Regions from separate parts of the Homo sapiens genome. Here region 1 is linked to region 2. The links are contacts of gene promoters, found by promoter capture Hi-C in human tissues and cell types (Jung and others, 2019). All regions are on one chromosome and are shown on one strand. Each heading gives the region's core, a stretch centred on a gene start or on the middle of the fragment in contact. The rest is flanking DNA. Distances are from core to core; before and after follow the strand shown. Region 1 has its middle 57 kb from the start of ZNF519. Region 2 holds the start of SEH1L (SEH1 like nucleoporin).

Region 1 (6,197 bases), core at 3,450-5,949, 1.1 Mb after region 2:
GAACAGGCTATCCTGGATGCTTGAGGGCCTCTCGTGGTGACTGAGTGTTGGCACTAGTGTCAGTTCATATCTAAATATTCCTACATATGTAATGTACTTTCATATTTTTTTTGACAACACTTGTCTAGGGAATATTTCAACTCTACTCTGTGCTTTTGGGATTCAATGGGAATCCCCTTTCAGATGGTCAACAGTGTGAGCCTTATTGATTGACCTTTTTGCCCTCTTCCCTGAAATATATTCTCTAGGTTTAATCTGTGGAATTAGATTTTAAGTCACATTTTCTTGCGTAAATGTATGAAAGCAGGAAAACCGGCTGTTGCTCATATTAACAGCATTTTTTTCACATAGTGTAAGAAAAACAGTGGTCTTATTCACCAGACCAATCTTGTATTCCCGCTGGTCTCACAGTTCAAGACTCCCTTCCCCAGGCTTTTTGTTCTGAGGTCTGGCCATACAAGCATCCTAGCTGAGTGGGTGGAAACGACATTTACCTGGTACAGGCCTGACCTGTGAAAACACCCTCTGTGAAGCCCCAAATATTTTTTGCCATACAACTGCATGAAATTTTCCCAAGCACCATAGCCAGATTTGAAGACACAGGTTAGCAATGAGAAATACACCAATAGAAGGTATGGGGGTCCCTAAATCCATATTTGGAGGAAAATCCACAAGCAGAGTCACATGACATTTGAAAGCCTGTGTTGAGGTGGTATATGCCAGCAATGATAAATATTACATGATGATCAAACTGCTGATAAATTCAGGTTTGTCTATTACAACAGCTAATTTTACGTTAACTGTAACAAAAATATATTGAAGAAAAGTTTGCATGGAAATTTTTATTTTTATATTTATTTATTTATTTATTTATTTATTTATTTATTTATTTATTTTGAGATGGAGTCTCACTCTGTCGCCCAGGCTGGAGTGCAGTGGCACAATCTCGGCTCACTGCAACCTCCGCCTCCTGGGTTCAAGCAATTCTCCTATCTCAGCCTCTCAAGTAGCTGGGACTACAGGCACTTGCCATCACGCCCAGCTAATGTTTGCATTTTTAGTAGAGGCAAGGTTTCACCATATTGGTCAGGCTGGTCTTGAACTTCTGACCTCAGGTGATCTGCCTGCCTTGGCCTCCCAAAGTGCTGGGATTATAGGTGTGAGCCACTGCACCTGGCCTGGACAATTTTTATTCAAATTCTGTGTACAACAAACATTTCCTGAGTATTTCAAAAGGCGAAGGAAAATATAAACCATACAGTTATTCATATAAGAAACCTGTATCATGATCTTCACTCTGTTTTTGAAATTCATGATGTATAATATACTTAAATATCTTCCCATGATTTTGCTTTCAGATATTTTACCAGTACAAAAATATGAATGTAGATTATTTTGTTTAGCAGTATTTATAAGAAAGTGTCATGAGTATTCCTATTTTATAATTTGCCTTTTGCAACTGTTAAATGAGAGGAAACAAAAGCACACTTCACTTTCCTTTCTCGAAGGCAAACCAGCTGTATTTCACTCCCTCGAATAGCTACTAATTTCTTGAAAATACTTCTGGAGAGCTCTCCCCAAATAGGGACAAGCCAGAAGATTTTTCACTTTCATCTGCTCTGCTCATTTGTGACTGTGATCAAACCTAGAAGATTTAGAAAGGAAGATTCCATCTCAAACAGCCCTGTAGTCATCTGTGTCCTGCAGGATGAAGCTCTGCAGCAGAGTCTGAGGATAGAAGTGTAGACTGCATCATTCAGATGTTTTTTTCAATTTTTGAAAGAAACTGGAAGAAGGTCCTATCACACAGGCATGACTGAGAAAGAATCCTTTTGTGATGCTCCCGTGGATTTGACGCATGTTCAGCCAAAGGAGCAGACAGATCAAGAAATTGAGAATTTCAGGATTCGGTAGGAGGTCTAGCAGGGGGCACTGGGAAACAACTAAGTATTGAGCTCTGAGTGTCCTGCACTGCACCCTGATGGCCAGCAGGGAGTGATGGAGCCCTCCTTTTCTGCTCCATGTGGCCCGAATGCATATCTGGCGCTCTCAGGAGGACTTCAGGAGGTATTGATTTAAAAAATGAATGCCTTTAACAGCACCCAAGTCACCTCTTGAATGCTTTGCTGCTTAGAAATTTCTTCTGCCAGATACCCTAAATCATCTCTCTCAAGTTCAAAGTTCCACAAATCTCTAGGGCAGGGGCAAAATACCATCAGTCTCTTTGCTAAAACATAACGAGAGTCACCTTTGCTCCAGTTTCCAACAAGTTCCTCATCTCCATCTGAGACCACCTTAGCCTGGACTTTATTGCTATCAGCATTTTGGGTAAAACCATTCAACAAGTCTCTAGGAAGTTCCAAACTTTCCCACATTTTCCTTTCTTCTTTTGAGCCATCTCAAGTATTCCAACCTTTCCCTGTTACCCAGTTCCAAAGTCGCTTCCAAATTTTTGGGTATCTTTTCAGCAGCACCCCACTCTACTGATACCACTTTGCTGTATTAGTCCATTTTTTTTCACATTGCTGATAAAGACATACCCAAGACTGGGAAGAAAAAAAGGTTTAACAAACTTTCAGTTCCACATGGTTGGGGAGGCCTCACAATCATGGCGGAAGGTAAGCAGGAGCAAGTCAGGTCTTACATGGATGGGAGCAGGCAAAGAGAGAGCTTGTACAGGGAAACTCCTGTTTTTAAAACCATCAGGTCTCATGAGACTCATTCACCATCCCGAGAACAATACAGAAAAGACCTGCCCCCATAATTCAATCACCTCCCACCAAGTTCCTCCCACAACACATAGGAATTCAAGATGAGGTTTGAGTGGGGACATAGCCAAACCATATCAGTTATTAACTACTGCAGAACAGTAACCAAATCCTTCTTTGTGTTGTTTTCGCCATTCCACTTGCCAGTCACGTGCGGTTACCAGCATATCACAATCCAGCAGAGGATGTTGGAGCACCCATTCTATTTGGGAGCTTGTAGTTTCAGGTCTGCCCAGCAGGAGTACATGGGGCTGACTGTGATGGCCTAGAAGATATTCAAAAGGCAAGTGGTGCCAATGCACACAGCCCTGCCCACTTTGTGAACATAGAAAACAAGTTTGTACCTAATTATGATTGAGAAAATGTTTCAACCCAAAAGCAGGCATTCTCTGTGGGGCTCCTTTATAAAGTATCACAAAGGAGGTGGCTACAGCCAGGTGTTTGAGAATCAGATCTGTAGACCTTAATGTGCATTTGGTGAAATAAAGAGAAATACAATGCTAAAGAAAAAATATTTTCATCAGGAACCCAATTATGGTCTGAGATAAGATTATTCCTATTGCCACATCCCTAGAGGACATTTGTTCTTTTCCAGTGACTGATACTTCTATTCATATTCAGAGTTAGAGGATCCTGAAGGGAAACATGAGGTCTATTTTATTTTGGCAACTGAAATTCAATATTGTCCACAGACCATTGTTTTCAACTCATAACGTTCTTATTAAATTCCATTTTCTATTGCTGAACTACACACCACACACCACACACCACACACACACATATTTACTGTGAGTACTATATTCATATTTTACATAGAACATTTACAATGATTCTACAAAGTAAGCAATTTATTATTATTTTTTTTTTTACAGGTGAGGGGAACTTAGGTGTAGAAAGGCTAAATAACAGCTAAATAACATCTAAAGCCCCCTCCTTCCTTGTAAGAGGCAGAGTCCGGAGCTGACAATGTGCTTAACCACTATGTGCCTCAACCTTGGACCTAGTCAGTCTTTTCTAAAACTCCACATATATTTCATTTTCTTTTTTTTGTAGATTTTGTCAGGTTTTTAAAAATGGTTGTATATTTATAAAATATGATTGTGGTAATCTCTTATTTAAATATCATTGCTTAATTTATAGGCAAATATCACTTATGATTCAGAGATCCAAATACAATGAAGATGCCTTAATTCCACAGATGCCAAATGAAATTTATGGAATGCAGAAATGATTTCATACTGGAATTAAGAGTCTTTTCATCATAACCAAGAAATAGGGCACAGTGGAATGACAGTGCTGTAATCCAGGGGACATAAAACATGAGTAGGCAATAAAATATTGCAGAGGAGAAACTACATCACCATTAATATATGGAGAAAATTAGTATTTGTGGATGCAAAAATATAAAATAAAATTATTTCAATGTCAGAATTGTTTAACATATTAAAACATGAGCCCACTATGTAAAAGGGAAACTGGAGGCAGGAAAAATTATTCACGGAATCAATTTAAATTGTACTAAGATAAGCACTGAACCTGGTAATGGCCTTAGAAGATTTTAAAAACAGAGCAAATATCACAAACAATTCAATTCAGAAAACTGCCGAAGATCTTGACCTTTTTTAAAAATACAAAAATCTACAGAAAAGTTACCCTTCTTTACTGACTTCATGAAGGAAAGCAGTCTCACCATAAGGAGTAGACAATGCATGTTTTCAGTCACCACACAGCTATGGTCTCCATTAAGTATATAATATGTCCAGAGTGGTTAAACTCCATAGTTACTACTTCTGAACAGAATAAGGTAATTCAATTGGTGAACTCTTACACACTATCGAAGGCATGAAGGTGTTGTAGAAACACCTCTACTAATCCTGAAAATGTCCCCGACTCTTCTAGAAAAAAAATAAAGCAGCTGGGAAATTAATTCCAAATTACACTAGAGAACTGGGAAAAAACAGATTTCATGGCCATCAAAAGCAATAATGACAAACAGTGAGGATTACATTAAATTAGAAGCAGTTAGGGACTGGTTTGTGACCTTGCCCTCCATTTCTTTTCCACAAGTTCAGCCCGTGGCTCACTGATTATTTCCTCCTTCCTGCATGGCTTTAGCACTGGCTCAGTTTCTAGCCCCAAAGAAGACCTTCTCCAGACAGGAATACTTACTGTACCTCCCAATATACTTCCTTCCCTTGCAGACTTTGCCTTCTGAACTACTCGTTTGATTTTTTTTGCTGCAGGGCTGGTGGGCTTGAAGTGATGGTCAGGACAGCCAGAGTGTGTGGGAGGAGGCAGGCGGTTCTGAGATATGGGTTCGAGATCTTGTGACATCATCTCCCCTCGAAACTGCAATAATCATTTCACCTGTAGCAACAATGACAGTACACACTTGGGGAGCTGAAGATAGTTTGAAAACCATTTTCCCAGTTACTGTTTACCAAAAACAATTACAACTTTCTAGTGAGTGCCTCCAGAGAGATGTGAGTGTTTTGGAGAGGTTCTTCTTTTCCAGGACCCCTGGAGGGACAGGACTCATGTAGATGGAGCAGGAAATGCTGAGATCTGGGACATGAGGGACTGACCACAAGGCAGTGTGTCTTACTGGATTCTATGCTTCCTTGATGTGTTCCCTGCTGAAAATCTAATTTTCTGTTATTCCCCAAATTCCTGAGCCAAACTATTATTTAATTATGAATAAAGAAATGGGATCATACAATAGACTGGTAAAGAATGTATCAATAGGTTACGGTGCAAATAGGCAGTCGTCCCCAACCTTTTTGGCACCTGGGACCCGTTCCATGGATGGGAAGACAATTTTTCCATGGACAGGATCAGGTGTTGTTGCGGAGATGGTTTCGGGATAAAACTGTTCCACCTCAGATGATCAGGCATTACAGTCTCATAAGGAGTGTGCAACCTAGATCCCTCACATGAGCAGTTCACAATAGGGTTTGCTGCTTCTGTGAGAATCTAATGCCACTGCTGATCTGAAAGGAGGCAGAGCCCAGGCAGCAATGCTCGCTCTCCAACCACTCACCTCCTGCTGTGCGGCCAGTTTCCTAACAGGCCATGGACAGGTACTGGTCTGCAGCCTGGGGGTTGAGGACTTCTGCACATAGGAGCCTGAAGTCATGTACTGATACAAAAAATTAATAGGGGAGAAGCTGTATAATTCAATGCAAATTAACATGTACATGTACATTATATATATTCTAAGAATACATATTTTATCAATTTACTGCTGTAGAGACTCCAAACTGCACAATATTTACAGAAAAAAATAGACATTTATCAAATAGTCCCTTTCACACAAAAATGTACCATGTTCATATGATCCAGAGATAAATTTTACTAATAAACAAATGCTAACTAAATTATTCAAGAGTTTTAAAGAATAATTTTTAGGAAGACTACATAAGGGTGATA
Region 2 (6,174 bases), core at 440-2,939:
ATGTAGGTTCACTGATCATAACAAAGGTACCACTTTGGTATGGGATGTTGACAGTGGAGGATGCTGTGCATGTGTGACAGTAGGGGTACATACGGGAACTCTATTTTCTGCTCAATTTTGCTGTGAACCTGAAAGTGTTCTAAAAACTAAAGTCTATTTTAAAAAATCCACTGTTTCACCTAATTCAACACTTCACTCCCACTCTGATAATCTCTGGCAACCAATGATCTGTTTACTGTCTGTATTTAAATTTAATTAAAACAATTTTTAAACTGTTTTGATATTTTTATAATAATCAATATATTTTGATTGGACTTTTATAGTGAGCACTTTCTTTGGAAATGAGTGTCTTTGACCTTCAAAAAAGTTATAGTTGTTATCAGTTATCATAAGAGGTGGGGCCCACCTCTTAAAGTAGCAATAAAATCTTATTTATGGTTGAAAAAGGTCAGGTCATTGCGCCACTTCTCTTTGCAGGTTTCTGTGCAATCCATCAGGGGACAGCTGGGACTAATCATTTAAAAAACTTTCCAGCCTGCTAATTTTACCATACCTCACATTTTTGTCATTCCTGGCCAAAATCCAAAGGGCAAGTCCCTTCTGCAGCCTCATTTTTTTTTTTTCTGTACTTTCGCTCCCCTGACGCAAGCTTCCACTGTCTCCCATCCTAACTTTACCACTACGCCCTCTAGAATGCCTTTTCCTGATAAGCAAAACCCCCCGAGTCGTTGGCTCCTCCACTTTCCGGTTTTGGCAGAATCCTTGATCTGAGCCAGGCCTCTTCCCAGGGGCTCTGGCCCTCTTCACTTCCTTTTCCCCGGAGGACTCTGGCTCCCGGGTAGCAAGCAGCCCACTTCCCCGGCCGCTTCCTTCCCCCGGGATGACACGTTTCTACAGGCGGACTCTTCTAATTCATACTATTTCCCTACCCCCGTGGTGGCTCCTAGCACCCCCAGGCCTGTTCTACCTGTAAAATCTTGACACATTTAAACTACTACTTCTGATCCTTTCCTCCCCGTCCAGCCTTCGCTCTTAGGCTGCCGAGCCTGGACTGCTTGTCATCCCCTCAGGCGTCTCCCCGGCCCTCCCTGCTCTTCAGCCGTCCCGACGGAGCGCGGCTCCTGACCAAACCCACGGTTCGTCTTCTCCACCTGCTCCGCGCGCCTCGCATGTGTCTGGGGGGAAACACATCCAAACGTCGACTTAAATGATTCAGGGCCGAGGACCGTGAGAGGCAGTCTTCACTTTTTCATCTTTCTTCATTTGCACAGTATACCAATAAGCTCTTACTACTTCTCAGCACAGGTAACTCGCCTTTTGCAGAGCACCCTCCGCCGCCGAACGGTCAGAGCCTGGAGGAACCCGCACCAGGATCGTAGGGCATGACGGGCCGGGGGCGGGACGAGGATTGACGAGCCGGGAACAGGGCGGGGCTTGAGGGGGCGGGAGGGTGGGGCGAGGCATGACGGCTCTGGTGGGAGGGTAGGCGGGGCTTGACGGGCCTGGGGGCGGGGCGGGGCTTGAGGGACCGGAAGGTGGGGCGAGTCATGACGGGCCGGGGCGTGGGCAGGGCTTGAGGGGCCAGGGGACTGTGTGGGGCCTGACGGGCCGGTGGGTGGGGCGGGGCTTGAAGGACCGGAGGGTGTGTGGGCGGGGCTTGATAGGCAGGGGCGGTGCGGGGGCGTGGGCAGCACAAGCCGTGCGCTCCCGGGCTGCGAGGTCTGGCTAGGCTACGGGCCACGCGCCGCCGCCGCTGCCGCCGCCACTGTCCTCTTCGGAGGCGCGGGCCCGACGGAAACCATGTTTGTGGCTCGCAGCATCGCGGCGGACCACAAGGATCTCATCCACGATGTCTCTTTCGACTTCCACGGGCGGCGGATGGCAACCTGCTCCAGCGATCAGAGCGTTAAGGTGCGCGCGGCGCTTGCGGGCGGGGCCGACCCCGGAAGGAAGGAAGGGGAGTGGGTGGGCGGCGCGGGGAACGGGGCTGTGTCTTGGTTCAGTGACGCCGCTGGAAGCTGTGGGGTGGCGGGCGAGCCCTGGCTGGACTGAGCGGAAGCCCTCCCCGCCCGCGTATTGTGGGGTCACGGCGGCCTCGCGGGCCGCCCTCCCGTGCGCCTGCGCAGCTGGTGCCACGTGCGCGCTCCCGCCCGCAGGGTACGCCGGGCCCTCTCCCAGGCCGCGCTGCCGGGGCTGCGGGCGGGAACCCAGGGGCATCCCACCGTCAGCCTCGGCGTCGTGGGTCTTGCCCGCGCTGTTCACCCGACGACCTGCAGTGGGACCTGGTGGGAGACTTTGCCTGGCTGGCGCTGCGTCGAGTTCTGTGCCCCGCCGGTGTTCTCTCACCAGGGCACATGGTTTTCTCCGTGGGTTCAGAGCAGAAGCTCACTTTGTTACGCCGAGGAAGAAAAATACAAACCATTTACATCCAATGATTTCCCTGCTTGCTGCCCAGGAATCGGAGGGTTTGTTTCTTGAAGTTCCCGTAAACGTCTGTAGACACTTCCGACAAGCAGAATTTCTTTTCTTTTTTTTTTTTTTTTTTTGAGACCGAGTCTCACTCTGTCACCCAGGCTGGAGTGCAATGGCACGATCTCGGCTCACTGCAACGTCCGCCTCCCGCTTTCAGGCGATTATCCTGCCCCAGCCTCCCAAGTAGCAGGGATTACAGGTGCACGCCACCACCCCCGGCTAATCTTTTTTTTTTTTTGTATTTTTTAGTAGAGACAGAGTTTCACCATGTGGGCCAGGCTGGTCTCGAACTCCTGACCTCGTGATCCACCCGCCTCGGCGCCTCGGCCTCCCAAAGTGCTGGGATTACAGGCGTGAGCCACCGCGCCCGGCCTACAAGCAGAATTTCTAATGTGGGGATGCTACATGAGATTTAGGAACCTCCCAGATGTGTTGCAGGATGAATGAAAGCTGGAGTGCGGATTATTTGGTTCTCGACAACTCCAGAGTAACTGGAAATCTGAAGGATAGTTTATCCTTTTTCACATTCGAGTTTGATACCAGTGATCTCTCAAAGATAAACTTTTTATAAATAGTGTTGCAATTTTTAAAAGATGTAGTTTCTTTTTTAAAACAAGTTTATTTTTGTTGTAATAAACTACGTTAACCGTTTTTTTTTTTTTTTTTTTTTTTTTTTTGAGACGGAGTCTTGCTCTGTCACCCAGGCTGGAGTGGGGTGGCGCAATCTTGGCTCACTGCAAGCTCCGCCTCCCGGGTTCACGCCATTCTCCTGCCTCAGCCTCCCAAGTAGCTGGGACTACAGGCGCCCGCCACCACGCCCGGCTAATTTTTTGTATTTTTTAGTAGAGACAGGGTTTCACCATGTTAGCCAGGATGGTCTCTATCTCCTGACCTCGTGATCCGCCCACCTCGGCCTCCCAAAGTGCTAGGATTACGGGCGTGAGCCACCGCGCCCGGCCCACGTTAACCGTTTTAAAGTGTAGAATTCAGTGGCATAGAGCACAGCATTCACATTTTTGTGCAGCGTCGCCCCTGCCCATCTCCAGAACCTTTTCATCATCCTAAACTGAAACTCTGTACCCAAGAGCACCCTGTTCCGCCACCCCATCCTCTGGTAACCTCTATTCTACTGCTTTCTATTAATTTGCATATTCTAGGTACCTCAGATAAATAGAATCATAGAATATTCGCCCTTTTATATTTGGTTTATTTCACTTAGTATAATTTTTTTTTTCTTTTTTCTTTTTCCTTTTTTTTTGAGGCAGAGTCTGGCTCTGTCACCCAGGCTGGAGTGCAGTGGTGCGATCTTGGCTTGTTGCAGCCTCAACATCCCAGGTTCAAGCCATCCTCCCACCTTAGCCTCTCCAGTAGCTGGGACTACGAGTGCACGCCACCACGCCTGGCCAATTAAAACATTTTTTTTGTAGAGGCAGGGTCTTGCTGCGTTGCCCAGGCTAGTCTCGAACTCCTGAGCTCAAGTGATCCTCTCACCTCAGCCTCCCAGAGTGCTGGGATTACAGGTGTGAGTCACCTTGCCCAGCCCTCTTAGGTCCATTTATTCCAGAGTACTTTTTTTTTAAAGGAGGAGCCATGTATTTATTTGTATATATTTTTAATTGAGCAAGTAATATATTTTTCTTTTTAGAAAGTGAAAAAATTATAGACTTATTGCTAATGTGTTAATATTTATTGATTTCCTCTGTTTTTCCTTTAACGTTTTAAGTTGTCATGGTAGAGTGTGTGTATATACGTATATGTCTTGTCAGAAATAGTGTTGTACTGAAATTTTTCATTAGTTTAGCATTTTATGTATTTTGAATGATTTTCTTAGGCTAATTCTAGAAGATAAATTAGTGGATATTTTAAACACTATTGAAGAGAATTGACAAATTGCTATTTTGCAGGTCGTACCGTTTTATACCGCCAGTGATAGTATTGATTTGATAGTGTTATTGCCCTCGTTACATTTTTAACAGGTGAAATTGGCACCTTCTTATTGTAATCTATATTTTTTCTGGGTAATAAGGTTTAATTTTTTTGTTTTGAGATGGAGTCTTGCCATGTTGCCCAGGCTGGAGTGCAGTGGCTATTCACGGGCGTGATCATAGCCTTAAACTCCTGGGCTCAAGTAATCCCTCCTGCCTCAGCCTCTTGAGTAGCTGGGACTACAGGTGTGCACCACCATGCCTGGTTTCAATATTTTTGCTTTACCATTTGTTACATGTACAGTTGAGCCTGTTGTTTGTAGATTCTGTATTTTTTGAATTTGTCTACTCTGAAATTTACTTGTACCCCAAAAGTCACACTGGTTTTGCAGTCATTTGTGCATGTGTGAGGAGTGGTGAAAAAGTTTGAGTCTCAGGACAGACGTTTCCCATTGAGGTGAAACCAGGCGATACTCTATTTTGGCTCATACTGTAAGCAGGTGTTTTTCATGATTTATTTAGTGCAATGATTATTTGTTCTTTCTGTTGGTGATTTTGCTGTTTAAAATGGCCTCCAAGCGTAGTGACTGTAACTAATTGTCTCTGTTACCTAATAGAGCTCAGCTTCCTGAATCCCTTGGTGCTTGGCCCAGTGCTTGACACATTCAAGGTTCTCAATGTAAATTTTTTGAGACGGAGTCTTGCTTTGTCTCCCAGGCTGGAGTGCAGTGGCGTGATGTCAGCTCACTGCGACCTCCGCCTCTGGGGTTCAAACGATTGTCTTGCCTCAGCCTCCCTAGTAGCTGGGACTATAGGCATGCGGCACCATGCCTGGCTAATTTTTGTATTTTTAGTAGAGACGGGGTTTCACCACGTTGTCTAGGCTGGTCTCGAACTCCTGACCTCAGGTGATCCGTTTGCCTTGGCCTCCCAAAGTGCTGGGATTACAGGCATGAGCCATCGCACCCAGCCTCTCAATAAATACTTAATTGAATGAATGAATGTTTACTTGCTGATTGTGTTCTTTTGTTAACTATATGTTCACCGCTTTCCTTGTACACTGATTCAGTCTTATAGTTTTTGTATCAATTTGTAGGAATTTTTGTATAAAATATCTGCCTTTTATTTTCTTATAGGTCTGGGATAAAAGTGAAAGTGGTGATTGGCATTGTACTGCTAGCTGGAAGGTTAGTATTTATTTTTACATTTATTAAAAATACAGAAATATTTACTGTTTATTTTATAGTTATCTATGAATTGTTTTGAGAAAATAACATTTATACAGTAGTTCTTTTCCTGGGAAGACATTTTACTGTTTTTCGCTATTAAAGTAACAACTGTGTTTCTCAGAATTTGAGAGTAAGAAAATCTGTAATTCTGTAGCATTCTAACATAATTATCTTAGTAATTCAGAATATTCCTTTTGCCTTTACATATTTTAATTGTTGTGATGTTTCATACATAGTTTTCTCTTAAAAAAAAAAAACAAAACCTTTACTCAAGTAGAAATTTTCTTTTTTTTTTTTTTTTGAGACGGAGAGTCTTGCTCTCTTGCCCAGGTGGGAGTGCAGTGGCGTGATCTTGGCTCACTGCAACCTCCGCCTGTTGGGTTCAAGTGATTCTTCTGCCTCAGCCTCCCAAGTAGCTGGGACTGTAGGCGTGCACCACGATGCCCGGCTAATTTTTGTGTTTTTAGCAGAGATGGGGTTTCGCCATGTTGGCCAGGCTGGTCTCAAACTCCTGACCTCAGGTGATCCTCCCTCGGCCTCCCAAAGTG

What was found. The method cuts DNA at HindIII sites, captures the fragments that hold promoters and counts their contacts. A contact is called where the count stands out against the background at its distance.
Region 1: a fragment that was not itself captured here is called in contact with the fragment with the promoter of SEH1L in region 2 in 1 of the 25 tissues and cell types used here (dorsolateral prefrontal cortex).

The regions. Positions count from the first base shown.
Region 1 is chr18:14,072,392-14,078,588 of GRCh38, forward strand. It overlaps a transcript of ZNF519 not described here and the pseudogene VN1R73P. Among named protein-coding and RNA genes, the nearest start is that of ZNF519, 57 kb to the right of the region's middle. The HindIII fragment of the contact is 5,999 bases long and covers 1,701-6,197 here.
Region 2 is chr18:12,946,322-12,952,495 of GRCh38, forward strand. SEH1L (SEH1 like nucleoporin) reads left to right here and starts at 1,690. Exons shown (of 9, transcript NM_001013437.2): 1 at 1,690-1,911; 2 at 5,534-5,584. The coding sequence starts at 1,801. RefSeq lists silencers at 1,388-1,837, 1,878-2,227, 2,238-2,337 and an enhancer at 2,269-2,870. The HindIII fragment of the contact is 16,054 bases long and covers 173-6,174 here.